5 separate regions of the Homo sapiens genome follow, and all the other regions are linked to region 5. The links are contacts of gene promoters, found by promoter capture Hi-C in human tissues and cell types (Jung and others, 2019). All regions are on one chromosome and are shown on one strand. The core of a region is centred on a gene start or on the middle of the fragment in contact, and the rest is flanking DNA. Distances in the headings are between cores, read along the strand shown.

Region 1 (2,746 bases), core at 155-2,654, 1.1 Mb before region 5:
TAAAGAGAGATTCAGCCCCACTTTCTGGGAAGAGTGAAAACACTGGGAATTAAGTGGAGTTTCTAAGCAAAAGGAAAATCCAAAGTGCCAGAGATGACTCAGCACAGGTCAGTATAGCTCCTATGTTGTAAAATAGGAGTTTTCTAGTCCCTCTTCATCCTCCCAGGTATGCTGGGATACTCTGATTAAACAGCAATATCCATATTAACCAACACTTCAGTTCATTTGAGTGCATTTCAATACATTAGGAGCTGTGAATGTATTAGGTATTTTGAATGCATTATATTTGATCCCAGCAACAATCTTGAAATGCAGATATTATCAATGAATCTTCTACAGAAAAACACAACAGAGACTCAAAGTAAATTATTTAGTCCCAGGTCACATGGTCCCATGGCACAGTAGCTGTAGAGTTTAATGGTTAAGAGCATGGACTCTGGAAACAGAATACCTGTGTTCAAGTCATAGCTTTGCTGCTTGCTAGTGGGGGAAAATAGACAGCATCTAAGATGGCCCCAGTTGATCCCCATTTCCTGTTATTCATGGACTTCTTCTAATCTTTTCCTCTTGAATAACCTACCTGTAACCAACAGAATATGGCAACATAGTGGGGCTGTCATTTTGTTGAGTAAGTTACAAAAGATTGTGGTTTCTTACTAGTGGACTCTCTCTGCTGCTGGCTTTGATTAAACAAGTTGTCATGTGAGAGAAGTCTTTGTGGCAAAAAACTGAGGGTACCTCACACCAACAGCCAGTGAAGAATGAGGGCCTTCAGTCCAATGCCCATGAGGAATTGAATTCTTCCAGCAGCTATGTGAGTTAACCTGAAAACAGATTCTTTCCCAGTAAAGCCTTCAAATGTAACCTGTTTCAGAGGACGCCTTAATTACACCTTTCTAAGGTTTGAATTTGCGCTCATGAAAACTCATGTTGAAATTTGTTCCCATATGTGGCAGTGTTGGGAGGTGGTCTAGCGGGGAGGTATTTGGGTCATGGGGACAGATGCTTCATGAATAGCTTGCTGCCCTTCTCACGATAGCAAGTTCACACTCTCTTGAGAGTTAGTTGTTATAAAGTCAAGACACTCTTTGGGTTTTGTCTCTTTGCACATATCTGCTTCCTCACTGACCTTCTTTGCCATGTTATGAGACAGCATGAAAGCCCTCACCAGAAGCCAGGGCTATGTCCTTGAACTTTCTGCCTATAGAAACATAAGCTAAATAAACCTCTTTTCTTTATTAATGACCAAGCCTCAGATATTCTGTTACAGCAACACAAAATAGACAAAGACGCAACCTTATGAGAAACGTTGAAGCAGAAGATCCAGGTAAGCCATGTTTTGATTCCTACCTCACAGAAAATGTGAGATAATAAATATTTATTGTTTTAAACTTCTAAATTTTGGGATGATTCTTTATGCAACATCAGGTAACCAATATAGGGAATGTGAGCAATTTCTTTAATTTCTGCCTGCCTCAGTTTTTTTACTCCTACTGTAGAAGTAGATCATCGTGATTATTTCATAGGGTTACTTAGAGGATTCTGTGTGAATATATATACAAATATATATATATATAGCCTGACATTGGGCAAATGCTGCCTAAGTTTGAAAATAGCAAAGCTGATATTCAAACCTGAGTCTGTCTGCTGCCCAAGCCCTTTGCCCTGGCAGCAGGCTCTCATGCACCATGCCAGTCCATACGAATATTGTCTTTAAAATCTACTTTACACCTCAGTTATGATTTTGTTTCTTGTTTCTTGCTGCATCCCTAAATTTATTTTATCCCTGACTCAGTGATGGCTTCAATTCCTAAACTCATTCTTGACCTTTGAACCAAAGAGGGAATTGACTTTTCCACTTGACTGCTTAGCATGTTTTCCTGGACTCCTATTCATTCTAGGCTTCCCGTGTCCTGTGCCCAGTTTAACTCATGCCTAGTATCACTGTGCCTCATTTCTGAGCTTGGAACTAAAGTTACATGCTACATAATGGCATTTTGGTCAATAATAGGACATATATATGTCCTGGTGATCTCATAAGATTATAATACTGTACCTTTTCTGTGTTTAGATATGCAAATACTTACCATTGTGTTATAATTGGCTACAGTATTCAGCATAATAACATGCTGTAGAGGTTTGTAGCCTGGGAGCAATAGACTATACCATATAGCCTAGGTGTGTGGTAGGCCATACCTTCTAGGTTTATGTAAGTACACTCCATGATGTTCACACAATGGCAAAATGGCCTAATGATGCATTTCTCAGAATGTATCCCCATGGTTAAATGGTACATGCCTGTGCCCATGGTTAAGTGACACGTGCCTGTGTATCAGGATCTGTATGTGGTATTCTGGAAAGCCAGAAAGAACAATGACTAAGGGCAAGAAGATTTGTCTTCTTTCTCCAATTCCTCCTTAAAGTAACTCACTTTATCATTTTCTGCATCTCAATTCATCACATGTGACATGGGTATTATAATTTCTATCTTATGGAGACACCATATGCATTAACTACGACGTGGAAGATAGAACAGTTGACATTAATTAGGTGCCCCGATAAATACTAATCCTGCTCTTGCATTCCTTAGCTATAGCACTCCATGGTTCTAGCTGTAAGTGCTTCAAGTAGAGGCCATGGAAAGTACTAGAACATCTCTCTCTCTGTTATGACCCCTTCTCCATTCTTCCGTGACCTCTTTCTCAATGGAATTAATATTTCTATTTGGGAAAATGTTAGGCAGCTT
Region 2 (2,768 bases), core at 238-2,737, 1.0 Mb before region 5:
CTGATTTATTTTTCTTCAAGACCTTTTTCTAAAATATCCAATATAGTATATATTTGTTAGTTTATTTGTTTTCTGAATCTCCCACTAAAATCAAAGCTATGAGAGAGGAAAACTTTTGGCTTTTTGGTTTATCCCTGTATTCTGAGAGCCTAGAGGAGTAACTAGAACCACAGAAAGTTCTCTTTAGTTATTGATTGAATTGACTAAATAAATATATTTTGTTGAACTTTTAAATCTATACATAGTATAGCTCTTCACTTCTGTCCTTTTACAAATTTAAATAATGTTCTGAAACCTATAGTGATTTTCAGCAATAGAGTTCTTAGAGCTAAAGTGCTTTCTGATAGTGAGAAAGAGAATAAGAAAAAGAGGGTGGAGGAAGAGGGAGATGGAAAGTGAGAGGGAGAGGGAAAGAGAAAGGAAGAGAGAGAAAGAGAAACTTTTTACTTCTTACATCTCAGACAACTAGTACTCTAAGTACTCCGCCATTTTGGAACATGTCATGTGAATTTATTTTCTGGAATATTCATGCTTTGCTCCAGATCAACTAAAAAAATTGTGGGTAGAGGTATAGGCATCAGTTATATTTTAAAGTTTCACAGATGATTTCAATATTCAGCCAAGGTTGAAAACCATTTTTCTAAATGCTAAGAACCAGGGATGAAGTCATAAACAGCACAGTTAAAACCTAGCTTCCTCTGAGGCAGTCACTCTCCCACTACCACCATTCTTTTCTCTATCTTACTTGTGGCTCTCACAGCACTATGCTTTCATTATACTCTTGACCTTTACTTGTTACTGCCTTTGGGATCTCTGTCTCCCCTTCCTTTTCCAACTCTCATTTGTCCTTCTAGACTCTCCTCAGAATCCTCAAAACTTCCTCAAATTTCTTCTCAGGGCTTGTAAGAGAATGTCTTCCTCTGGACCCCTCAGCATTCCATCCTTTCTTCCACCATCACATTGGCTAAACACTTTTAATTATCTGTTTTTATTTCAGTTTTGATCAGACTGAATGCTCTTTGAGGTCAGAGACCATATTATATCAGTCTATGTCTTCTCAGCTTCTACAAAAATGCTCAGTGAATGTTGGACTAGTAAACTGAAATCATGAGGCTATTTGAGGTAAGAACTGACTGGCACTGCCACAGCTTTGAGACAGAGTTTAGTAGGACTTGTCATAGCCAGCGGAGAGTAACTTGTGATCACCAGTGCATGAATGTTGGGACTCACCTCTCAGGACATGATGGTTACCACTCTGAGCAAAAAAAATATATGAGACTTTCTATTGAGAAGGAGACAGTCCAGTGTATAAAATTGTCAGAAATGTATGTTTGATGTTATGTGGTCTGATTTCCCCAATTTAATTTTTCCTAGATCTTACTATACTTAAGATCTTCATCATGAAAAAGATGTATATAAATTGTGTCCCAAAAGACCATCAGTGGTTGTCTTGGAATTCAGGTTTTTTTTTTATTATTATTTGTTTGTTTTTTAAAGCACATTTAAGAAAAGACCAGAGGCATTCTTCTGAGACTTCTGCTACGGTTTGAATGTGTCTCCCAAATTTTGTATTGAAAACTTAATCCCCAGATTAATATGATGATGGAATCTGGAGACGGGGCTTTTGGGAGGTAATTAAGATAAAATGAGGTCATCAGGGTGTGGCCCCCATGATGGTATTCGTGGCTGTATAAAGAGTAAAAGAGAGACCTGAGCTAGCATGCTTGTCCTGTCTCATCAGGGAATGCCTTCCACAATATCTTGACATAGCACAAGGTCCTCACCAGATGCCACTGCCATGTTTTCAGGCTTCCCAGACTCTAGAACCATGAGCTAAATAAACCTCTATTATTTATAAATTACCCAGTCTGTGGTATTCTGTTATAGCAATGGAAAATGGACTAAGACACCTTTCTCGATCAAATATTTTTCAAGTTGCTTGGTCAGGAAAAGCAAAAATTAACACCAAGTGTCCATTATTTTATATTTTAGATAGTTGCATAAGTAAGGTTGTCTTCATTGACTGTTTAACAAATTATATTTTTTATTTCATAGTGTGACCCTATCATTCTCAGCTAATATTCTGTCTCTCTTTACTAACTTATGAGGTTAAAACAGTTCGTATATTATTATAGATAGCTATCCAGACAAAGGTAGACACAGACTGATAATGGAGCAAAGATTCTGCAGCCAAATGTGGACAGACAAGGAAAGAAGCTTATTCCTGGCACAGTATGACAAATGCACAGCCAAGTGCAGATCTACGGTGATCCCTATTGAACTCAAATCAGATGGGAAGTGATGTTGTTACTGTAAAATTAAGTCATGTCTGGTTATTTTTACATTAAAACAAAAATGACAATAGGAGAGATGATCAATAATGATCTGAACAACAATAATAACAGCAGTAAACTATGGAACATCATCCTTTTTGAACTCACTTTTCCATAATGTGAAGGGCTTCCTAAACTTTCTTGAAGAATTAGTTAAAATAATAAAAAATTATAGAACTAGTGCAGGCTTTTTATATTGCTGAAGGAAATGTTTAGTGAAAAGAAGGAAATTCTTCATGATGAGTATAGACTTTACAAGTGTTTAATGTTGGGTGCAAAGAGCAGAAATGACACCATTGGACTCAGGCAGAGTAGGATACTTTCTGGTAAGGCAGTGGTTCTGAACTGGGACCATTTTACCCCTAAGGGACATTGGGCAATGTCTAGAGTATTTTTGGTTGTCACAAGCTGGGGAAGGGGCACTACTGGCATCTA
Region 3 (2,700 bases), core at 168-2,667, 1.3 Mb before region 5:
GATAAGTCTAGTGATGTTTCTTTCATGATGGGCAGGTCTGCAAACTCTGAACTATTCCTGGATCTATTGGCATAAAATTCTAGGGGCAAATGTGCCATATTGGACCCTGCTTCTCAGCACTTTTTATCCACTGCCTGCACAGTCGTGACACTCATTAGGAAGACTGTGATGATAGCTTCTCAGCTAGTCTCTCTGCCTTCCAGCTTTCTGCCTGTCCCTACTCCATCCTATTCCCTCAGGACAGATGTATGTTTCTTAATTTCAATTCTGGAAACCTCAGCCTCTCTCTCATAAAGCTTAATGCATCAAGCTAAGAGCTATCATTTATTGATTGGTGACCATGTACCAGACAATTTTTATCATGATTTTTGTCTGTTTTGTGTAAACACATACCTCAGTGCCGAGAATTTTTAAAATTCTACATGTCTGCCTCAAGGTTATTGGTTAAATGAAGATATTATATCATTTTATCTTAAATATTGCCTTATGTCATATTATTTACCTATTTTGGTAACCTCAGGTTGATGATGGTTAATTAAATTATTCAAAAATGTAGGAGAGAACCCAGGTTTAAATTTCAGGCCTGTGTGATTTCAGAGGTCATTTGTTAAACTAATATTCAATTCTGGCTCCAAATGGCATTTAAGCAACTGCCCTAAAGAACCTGAAACAGTAAGTCCAGCCCCTACTCTCCTCAAGTCCTCCAGAAGGACCAACAACCTGCTATTTTCAACAAGTCTCACATCATGGTCTCCACTTTGTTCAAATGCTGGCCGGGCGCAGTGGGTCACGCCTGTAATTCCAGCAATTTGGGAGGCTGAGGTGGGAGGATCACCTGAAGTCAGGAGTTCGAGACTGCCTGGACAACATAGTGAAAACCCTTCTTTACTAAAAATAGAAAAATTAGCCAGGTGCAGTGGCGTGCGCCTGCAGTCCCAGCTACTTAGGAGACTGAGGCAGGAGAATCATTTGAACCCTGGAAGCTGAGATCGCACCACTGCACTCCAGTCTGGGTGACAGAGAGAAACTCTGTCTTGAAAAAAGAAAAAGAAAAAGAAAAAGATAATGTCCTTTAAGTCCCATCACACTCACCATCTCCGAAAAGCCAATCCAGATGGTCTCTACCATAGATTCTCCTTTGAATTCCTGCCACAAACTCACTCACACTCATACTTTGATGCAAACAATTTGCATGTTAAATTGTTTGTAAAGGAGTAAGAGTCTTGCTGAATTTTTATGTTCCCCAAAGGATTTGAAAAAGCACTGGACACCAGGAAGGGTGTTAGTAAATGCTTTTTTAAACTAAATCATGTTAAATTTGAAATTAACCGCATTGACTTCCAGTTTCTTCTGTCAGCAGTAAAGAAGGGGATATTTACTAGAAAATAAGTTCCCCAGTTTGAGAAAATGTTGCAAGCCAGAAAAGAGTTTGGACCAATCCCCAAAAGCAAATTTTCTCATCGCCTGGATAGGGACTGAGAAAAAGAGTACTTCTTTTTTTTTCTTGTGCTCTGGGCATGACTCCCAGCCTCCCCTAACTTTTGAAACCAAGCTTCTGGGAACACTGAGTACACACGTGCCTCTTCAGTCCCTGACACACAGAGGCATACACCCATTCCATAGAACTTTACCACATCCAGACTTACGAGCAAATATCCGAAAGTTGGAGGTAATGGGGAGAAATGAAAAGTAGAGCTACCTCATAGTAGTAGAGGTTTTGTAATACTGAAAAACAAGGCAGGAGAGCCATCCCTACAGAGAGATGTTGGGGATATTTCTGGTGTATTGATTTGGAAATCATCAAATAGAATCCTAAATGCCAAGGCCTGAAAACCTATCTCCAGTGTTCTTTTCTTTCTTTTTAAAGCTGGCAGAACTGCAAGCTGAGATAACAGCAAGGTATTTTTAGCTGTGTGTATTGATTTTTTTTGTCCTTGGAAGCTACTATATTCTATTATAACCCAAAAACAACAAGTGAAAAAAGCCAGCTGTGGCAAAATCTCATTTAAAGCAGAAGCATAATAATAATGATATTAAAATAATATGTTTGGAAGTATCTAAAGTTGCAATACTTGGATATTTTGGCATAAAGGGCCTCTCTTAAATGCTTTGCCCTCTGAATAATGCCTTTCGACTGACTGTTCTGCAGCAAAACTATTAGGTGAATAAAAATTTTAAGATGTGGTACGCTTGCTGGCAAACATCAAACTGTACAAAACAGGGATAGTCAATATCGATAACTGTCCCTGAAAAAAACAAACAATCAGAAAAAACTGGACATGGGTATCTTCATTACAAAATTTCTCACTATCCAGACTTCTTATCTCTCCCCATAACATCATCATCCATAATCGAAGTGACTTTTCTTAAATCTTTGCTGCTGTCTGCCTGTACAATACCAGGGACTAGCTAGATTTTATGACATTGCTTATTCTACTGAGGTATTTACCTGTAGAAAATATTCCTCTTTTTCCTGTACATTACATCCACCAGCTAAGCTCCTTTTGTGTCCCTCTTGGAATACCATTGCATCCTATATCGGGCTTTCCTTTTATTGCCGTTTTATATAGGAGGAAATATTTTCTTCTCCTTCTTGAGTTTGTGTCTGGGTCCTCTATAAAACAGATTCTTTGATTTGTTTTTTTGGAAGTGGCCCTTCTTTCCACTCCTGCTCTCATTTCTTCCCAAGGGAGGAGTAAC
Region 4 (2,700 bases), core at 169-2,668, 1.0 Mb before region 5:
ATATAGAGGCAAAATAGCCCATAAATATTGTTTTATTATTTTCGTGGATCAGAAATACAGGCATAACTTAGTGAGATCTTCTGCTTTAAGTTCTTTTATATTTAAAGAGAAAAAGAGATAAATTTATTTTAAGAAATTTTCTCATGTGATTTTTGGGGACTGGCAAATCTGAACTCTGTAGGGCAGGCTCACAGTCTGGAGTTCTGGCAGGGGTTGATGTGGCAATCTTAGTCCACATACCAAAGATGAACAGGCTAGAAACTCAAGCTGGGATTTTATGTGGCTATCTTGAAGGAAAACTCTTTCTTTTGGGGTCAACCTCAGTCTTTCTTTGCTCTTAAGGCCTTTAACTGATTGCATGAAGCCCACCCACATTATGGGTAGAATCTGCTTTACTCAAAGTCTACTTATATGAATGTTGATAATTATTCAGTCTACTGACTTAAATCTTAATCACATTTAAAAAAAAAACCCTTCACAGCAACATCTGGACTGATATTTAGCCAATCCACTGAGAACCACAGTCTAGCCAGGTTGACACAACATTAACCACCACAGGATGTAATCAACGTGTCAGCTAGGACTGGTGTCTCATCAGAAGGCTCAACCAGGGAAGGATTTGCTTTCTAAACTTATCTAGTTATTGGCAGAATTCCATTCCTTGCGTGCTGTTACATCGGGGGTCTAAGTTCCTCATTGGCTGCCGACAGGAGGTTGTTCTTGGTTCTTTGCTACATGGGCCTCTTCATGCAATAGTTAACTTCAACAAACAATTGAGGAAGAATTCCCTAGCAAGAGAGAAGCCACAGTCATATGTAACCTAATCAGGGAAGTGATATCCTGCCACTTCACCACATTCAATTAATTAAAAGCAAATCGTCAAGCCAGCCAGCAACCAAGGGAAGAGGATCACATACAGGCATAAACACTAGCAGGTGGGTATCATATTAGAGCCTGCTTGTCACAGACAGCTTATCTTCATTTCAGGTAAACTATTTTATTGAAATCCTCATAGTCTGTTTATGAAGTAGTCATCTTTATTACCATTTCACATATTAATGAATAAAGGTTCAGACAGCTTTTCTGTCTAGATCAACATAACACATCAAGTCAAAGGGAAAGACAGTAATCAAGGCTACATCTATTTGCTACTGAGAGCTTTGCTTGACCTCCTACTTTACAACCTAATATCGATTTGTTGTTGTTGTTGTTGTTGTTGTTTCACTAGAAATTCCTATTAGAAAAACTGATACTCATTGCCTTCTCTCAAATTTAAGTACTCCAATAGACCTTTGACTTCCCCAAACACAACCTGTGATGTCTCTTTGTATTGCATAAATTAGCCACATTTTCTGATCCCTTGGCTATCTGACTATAAAACTGGAACTATTCTGCTTTGCTAGCAGACTTAACCTCATCTCATTCTTTGTAACCAGTTTTTCCCTGTGAGAAGAAAAATAATCTCATGGCCTGGTCATCTATTACCAGGGAAGTCAAGCTCTGGATTCTATTCCAAATTTTGCCCTAAGTTCTAGACTGTGGATCCAAGGTATGAATTTTGTAAATGTCTGATACCTATCTACCTGCCTGATATTCCAGTTTCTCTAGGACTGGGATGCCTACCTTTATTCCTTTTAGGGTTTCTAAAGACCACAGTCATGATTCTGAACCTACGCCATTGTAGCTAGGCCCTCTTCTCCACCTTTTTCCATACTCCTCATTATTAAAATATTGCTCTTCCCAGGTAGGTAGAGAAGATGTGGAGGTTTATGACATTTCTTCTGGGTTTGTGATGCATGAGAAGACACATTAATAAAACTTCTAGTTTGTATTCTTAGATTACTTATTACAAATTTTAAATACAAAGGAAGAAAATTCCAGGCCATCTAGCTAAGAGACAATATGGGAATTTGAAGGAAAAGATACTTGTATAATTCCCCAAACTCTATAGCACCTATTCAAAGTAAGCTATGGTTATTTTTTAAATAATGATTTTCCCTAGATATCAATACAACAGATCACTTATCTTCCTTCTCCAAATATTAATATCTCCTGTTGACCTCCATCGTGCAAAGTACTGAGTCCAAACTGCCTATGGCTGTATTCAAGAATTTCCATGATCTAACTGCAAGCATTTTTTTCAACTTTATTTCTGTCCATGCATTATAATCCCTTCCCCTTCTTTGTGCATGATGGTTGTCCCTTAATTCTTAACCTATTAAGCTTGATTCAATATCTTTCTTTGCATTCAGGTCCAATAACATCATATCTAGTAAGTACTAGAGAGTACATACTATCCCTTACAGAAATATCAATGAAATGCTCTTTTATCTGTCATCCTCAGTACGTCGTTTATATCTAGCCAAGCCCATATTTTATTCTGTCACGTGATATGGCTCATTGTCTACATGCCTTTCTTCCCTTATTAGTTCAGAACACTTTAAAATGTAAGGCCTACATTGCTTCCTTTGTTATATTCCCATCCTCAGACTCCATCACACTGCTCTGAATGAGGCATAGGGATAAAATAATGTAGGGGGTAGGATATAGATTTTTGGAATCAGATGCACATAAATTTGGAAATAGGTTCTGGCATTTATTAACGGTGTAGATGTGATTGGAGAAGTTACTTGACCCCCAAGTCTTGGCTTTCTTACCTACTAAATGAAGGATAACATTGCCTGTCTCAAAGTTTTGCTG
Region 5 (2,757 bases), core at 153-2,652:
GCCGGCTGGAGTGGCGAGCTCAGCCGCGGGCTTTAACACCCCTCCATAAATACAAGGGGGGTGTCAAATAATAATAGGGGCACCTCCCTTCGCACTCAATACGGAGATGCAACTGCGCCAGAGACCCCGCTGCGATACCTCCCCCGGAGCCACCCCACCAAGGGTAGCAGCTGTTCTGGAACCGCCCAGAGCCCCGCTCCTCGCAGTTCCTCCGCATCTCGGGCGCGAGGACACCCGAGGGCGGCCGCGGCAGGGGAGTCAGGGCTGGGTGCGGAGATTCGCCCTGGTTTTTCCAAGTCAACGATTCCAGGAGAATCGGACACATCCTCGCCTCCCTTTTCCCCTGCCTGCGCCTACCCAACACCACGTCCTAACACCTCTAGAGACCCAGGTTTTAAATTGTATTATTGCTTTTTAAAAAGCCAAATGCCAACTTCTTAAAAGGATCAGGGCGGGTTGGAATCGCCGCGGGGACAGGCGGGCGGGACGCGCCGCAGTGTCCGTCTCCGGCTGTCAGAAATGCGGTGAGCCGAAATTTAAATGCCCTCCCGGAGACGGGGACAAGTCAGCGGCTGCGGAGCGATCTGGCTCACACAGGCGATATGCGGTCCCTACTCCAAGGAGCTCAGGATGCAAGGGGCTTTCTGCCCACCGCAAAGCAACCCCCAGCCCCCCAAAACCCAGAGAGCAATTAACACAATAAAGCAGGAATGTCCGACCGGCCGGGAGTCAGCGTGAATATATTCATAAGGCAGAAATCTCGAAAGGGTAGTCTTAAAAACCATTCCCGTTTTCCCTCTGCCTTCTCCTCTCCCATCTTGACAAGTCACTTTACCCCGATCCAGTTCTGGATTACCCCCCACCCCAGCCCCAGTTACCATAACTACTCTGAGAAAAGTGTCAATAGCGCAGGAATGGGAGAAAAGACACCCTATTTAGGCATTCGACTCATCTCAGCATTAAAGTGATAAAAAAATAAATTAAAAGGCAAGTGGACTTCGGTGCTTACCTGGTTTTCCACTACCCGAAAAAAATCCAGCGTCTAAGCAGCTGCAAGGAGAGCCTTTCAGAGAAGCGGGTCCTGGCAGCGGCGGGGAAGTGTCCCCAAATGGGCAGAATAGCCTCCCCGCGTCGGGAGAGTCGCGTCCTTGCTCGGGTGTTGTAAGTTCCAGTGCAAAGTGCCCGCCCGCTGCTATGGGCAAAGTTTCGTGGATGCGGCAAGGGTTGCGGACCGCTGGCTGGGGGATCAGCGGGAGGGCTGGGCCAGAGGCGAAGCCCCCTATTCGCTCCGGATCTCCCTTCCCAGGACGCCCGCAGCGCAGCTCTGCTCGCCCGGCTCTTCCACCCTAGCCGGCCGCCCGCTCGCTCCCTCTGCCTCTCGCTGGAATTACTACAGCGAGTTAGATAAAGCCCCGAAAACCGGCTTTTATACTCAGCGCGATCCCTCCCTCCGTTCTTTTTCCCGCCAAGCCTCTGAGAAGCCCTGCCCTTCTCGAGGCAGGAGGGGAGCCAGGGACGGCCGGGGCCCGGCGGTGGCGGCCGCGAGCAGCACAGCTCGGGGGTCCTCAGCCGTCCAGACCCTCGCATTATAAAGGGCCGGTGGGCGGAGATTAGCGAGAGAGGATCTTTTTTCTTTTCCCCCACGCCCTCTGCTTTGGGAACCCGGGAGGGGCGCTTATGGGGAGGGTGGGGAGGGTGGGGAAGGTGGGGAGGAGACTCAGCCGGGCAGCCGAGCACTCTAGCTCTAGGATGTAAACAGAGTAAGAGAGCCGCATGAATTAACTACGCGCGCCTACCATTTTCTTTTGCTCCCTCTCAAACCCTCTCCCTTTCTCTGCTGCTCCTCCGTAGCAGTACTGTTTGACAAACCGCATCCTTGTCCTGTGAGTATAAATCATCGCAGGCGGAACAGCTGCCCTCCACACCGAGAACGCACTGCGCGCCCACCGCCACGCCACGCGCGTACCAGGCTGCAGGGCGCCTCGCTAAGGCTGGGGAAAGGGCCGCGCTTTGATCAAGAGTCCCAGGGAGAGTGGAGGAAAGAAGGGTATTAATGGGCGCGCGTTCAGAGCGTGGGATGTTAGTGTAGATAGGGAGGAATGATAGAGGCATAAGGAGGAAAACGATGCCTAGAATGATTAAAATAACCCAGCAACGCATTGCCACGTATACTTGGAGAGCGCGTTATGAATAAACTCCCATTGCATTTGTTGGGGGGAGTCATGTATTATGCATTATGTATGCACAGCTATCTGGATTGGATACCTTCCACCCAGACTGAGTCCCCCAATTTGCTGCCAAAGCAGCAGATACCGCCCCTCCTGCCCCGCCTGCTCAGGCTTCCGTGGGGCCCCGTGCGGGAGGCGTCTGTTTAGCCCTGAGATGTGTCTGCCTGTTCCAGAGCTGGGCTAGGGCGAGAGGGAGGTTGCCTGCTCTCTGCCAGTCTGTACCCCACCGTCCCACCCCCACGCCTCCCACACGGAGTTCCCAATTTCTCAGCCAGGTTTCAGAAGAGACAAATCCCCTTTGCGCCCTGTGGCGCCGGTTTGCAACAGTCTCGGGCTGCCGGGTTTGGGAGAAATCAAAGGTGCTAGACGGGAGAATATGGGAGGGGCAGGGGGTACCCGAACCGCGGGACCGGACTTCCTAAAAGGGGCAAGTGGAGAGCTTGTGGACCGAGCCGGGGGAGTCAGCAGAGACCCTTGTGAAAAAAACCGTTAACTCTTTCCTCCCCGGACAAACCGGACGTTTAATTCC

What was found. The method cuts DNA at HindIII sites, captures the fragments that hold promoters and counts their contacts. A contact is called where the count stands out against the background at its distance.
Region 1: a contact is called between a fragment that was not itself captured here and the fragment with the promoter of MYC in region 5, in 1 of the 25 tissues and cell types used here (dorsolateral prefrontal cortex).
Region 2: a fragment that was not itself captured here is called in contact with the fragment with the promoter of MYC in region 5 in 1 of the 25 tissues and cell types used here (dorsolateral prefrontal cortex).
Region 3: a contact is called between a fragment that was not itself captured here and the fragment with the promoter of MYC in region 5, in 1 of the 25 tissues and cell types used here (dorsolateral prefrontal cortex).
Region 4: a fragment that was not itself captured here is called in contact with the fragment with the promoter of MYC in region 5 in 1 of the 25 tissues and cell types used here (dorsolateral prefrontal cortex).

The regions. Positions count from the first base shown.
Region 1 is chr8:128,795,947-128,798,692 of GRCh38, reverse strand. No RefSeq gene overlaps it. Among named protein-coding and RNA genes, the nearest start is that of LINC00976, 170 kb to the left of the region's middle. The HindIII fragment of the contact is 3,980 bases long and covers 1-2,746 here.
Region 2 is chr8:128,778,830-128,781,597 of GRCh38, reverse strand. No RefSeq gene overlaps it. Among named protein-coding and RNA genes, the nearest start is that of LINC00976, 190 kb to the left of the region's middle. The HindIII fragment of the contact is 7,206 bases long and covers 1-2,768 here.
Region 3 is chr8:129,066,233-129,068,932 of GRCh38, reverse strand. No RefSeq gene overlaps it. Among named protein-coding and RNA genes, the nearest start is that of LINC00976, 100 kb to the right of the region's middle. The HindIII fragment of the contact is 3,749 bases long and covers 1-2,700 here.
Region 4 is chr8:128,738,492-128,741,191 of GRCh38, reverse strand. No RefSeq gene overlaps it. Among named protein-coding and RNA genes, the nearest start is that of LINC00824, 180 kb to the right of the region's middle. The HindIII fragment of the contact is 3,830 bases long and covers 1-2,700 here.
Region 5 is chr8:127,734,876-127,737,632 of GRCh38, reverse strand. It overlaps MYC (MYC proto-oncogene, bHLH transcription factor), which reads right to left and starts at 1,402. Exons shown (of 3, transcript NM_002467.6): 1 at 1,010-1,402. The coding sequence starts at 1,039. RefSeq lists a silencer at 1,497-1,686 and a cis regulatory region at 2,174-2,757. The HindIII fragment of the contact is 14,684 bases long and covers 1-2,757 here.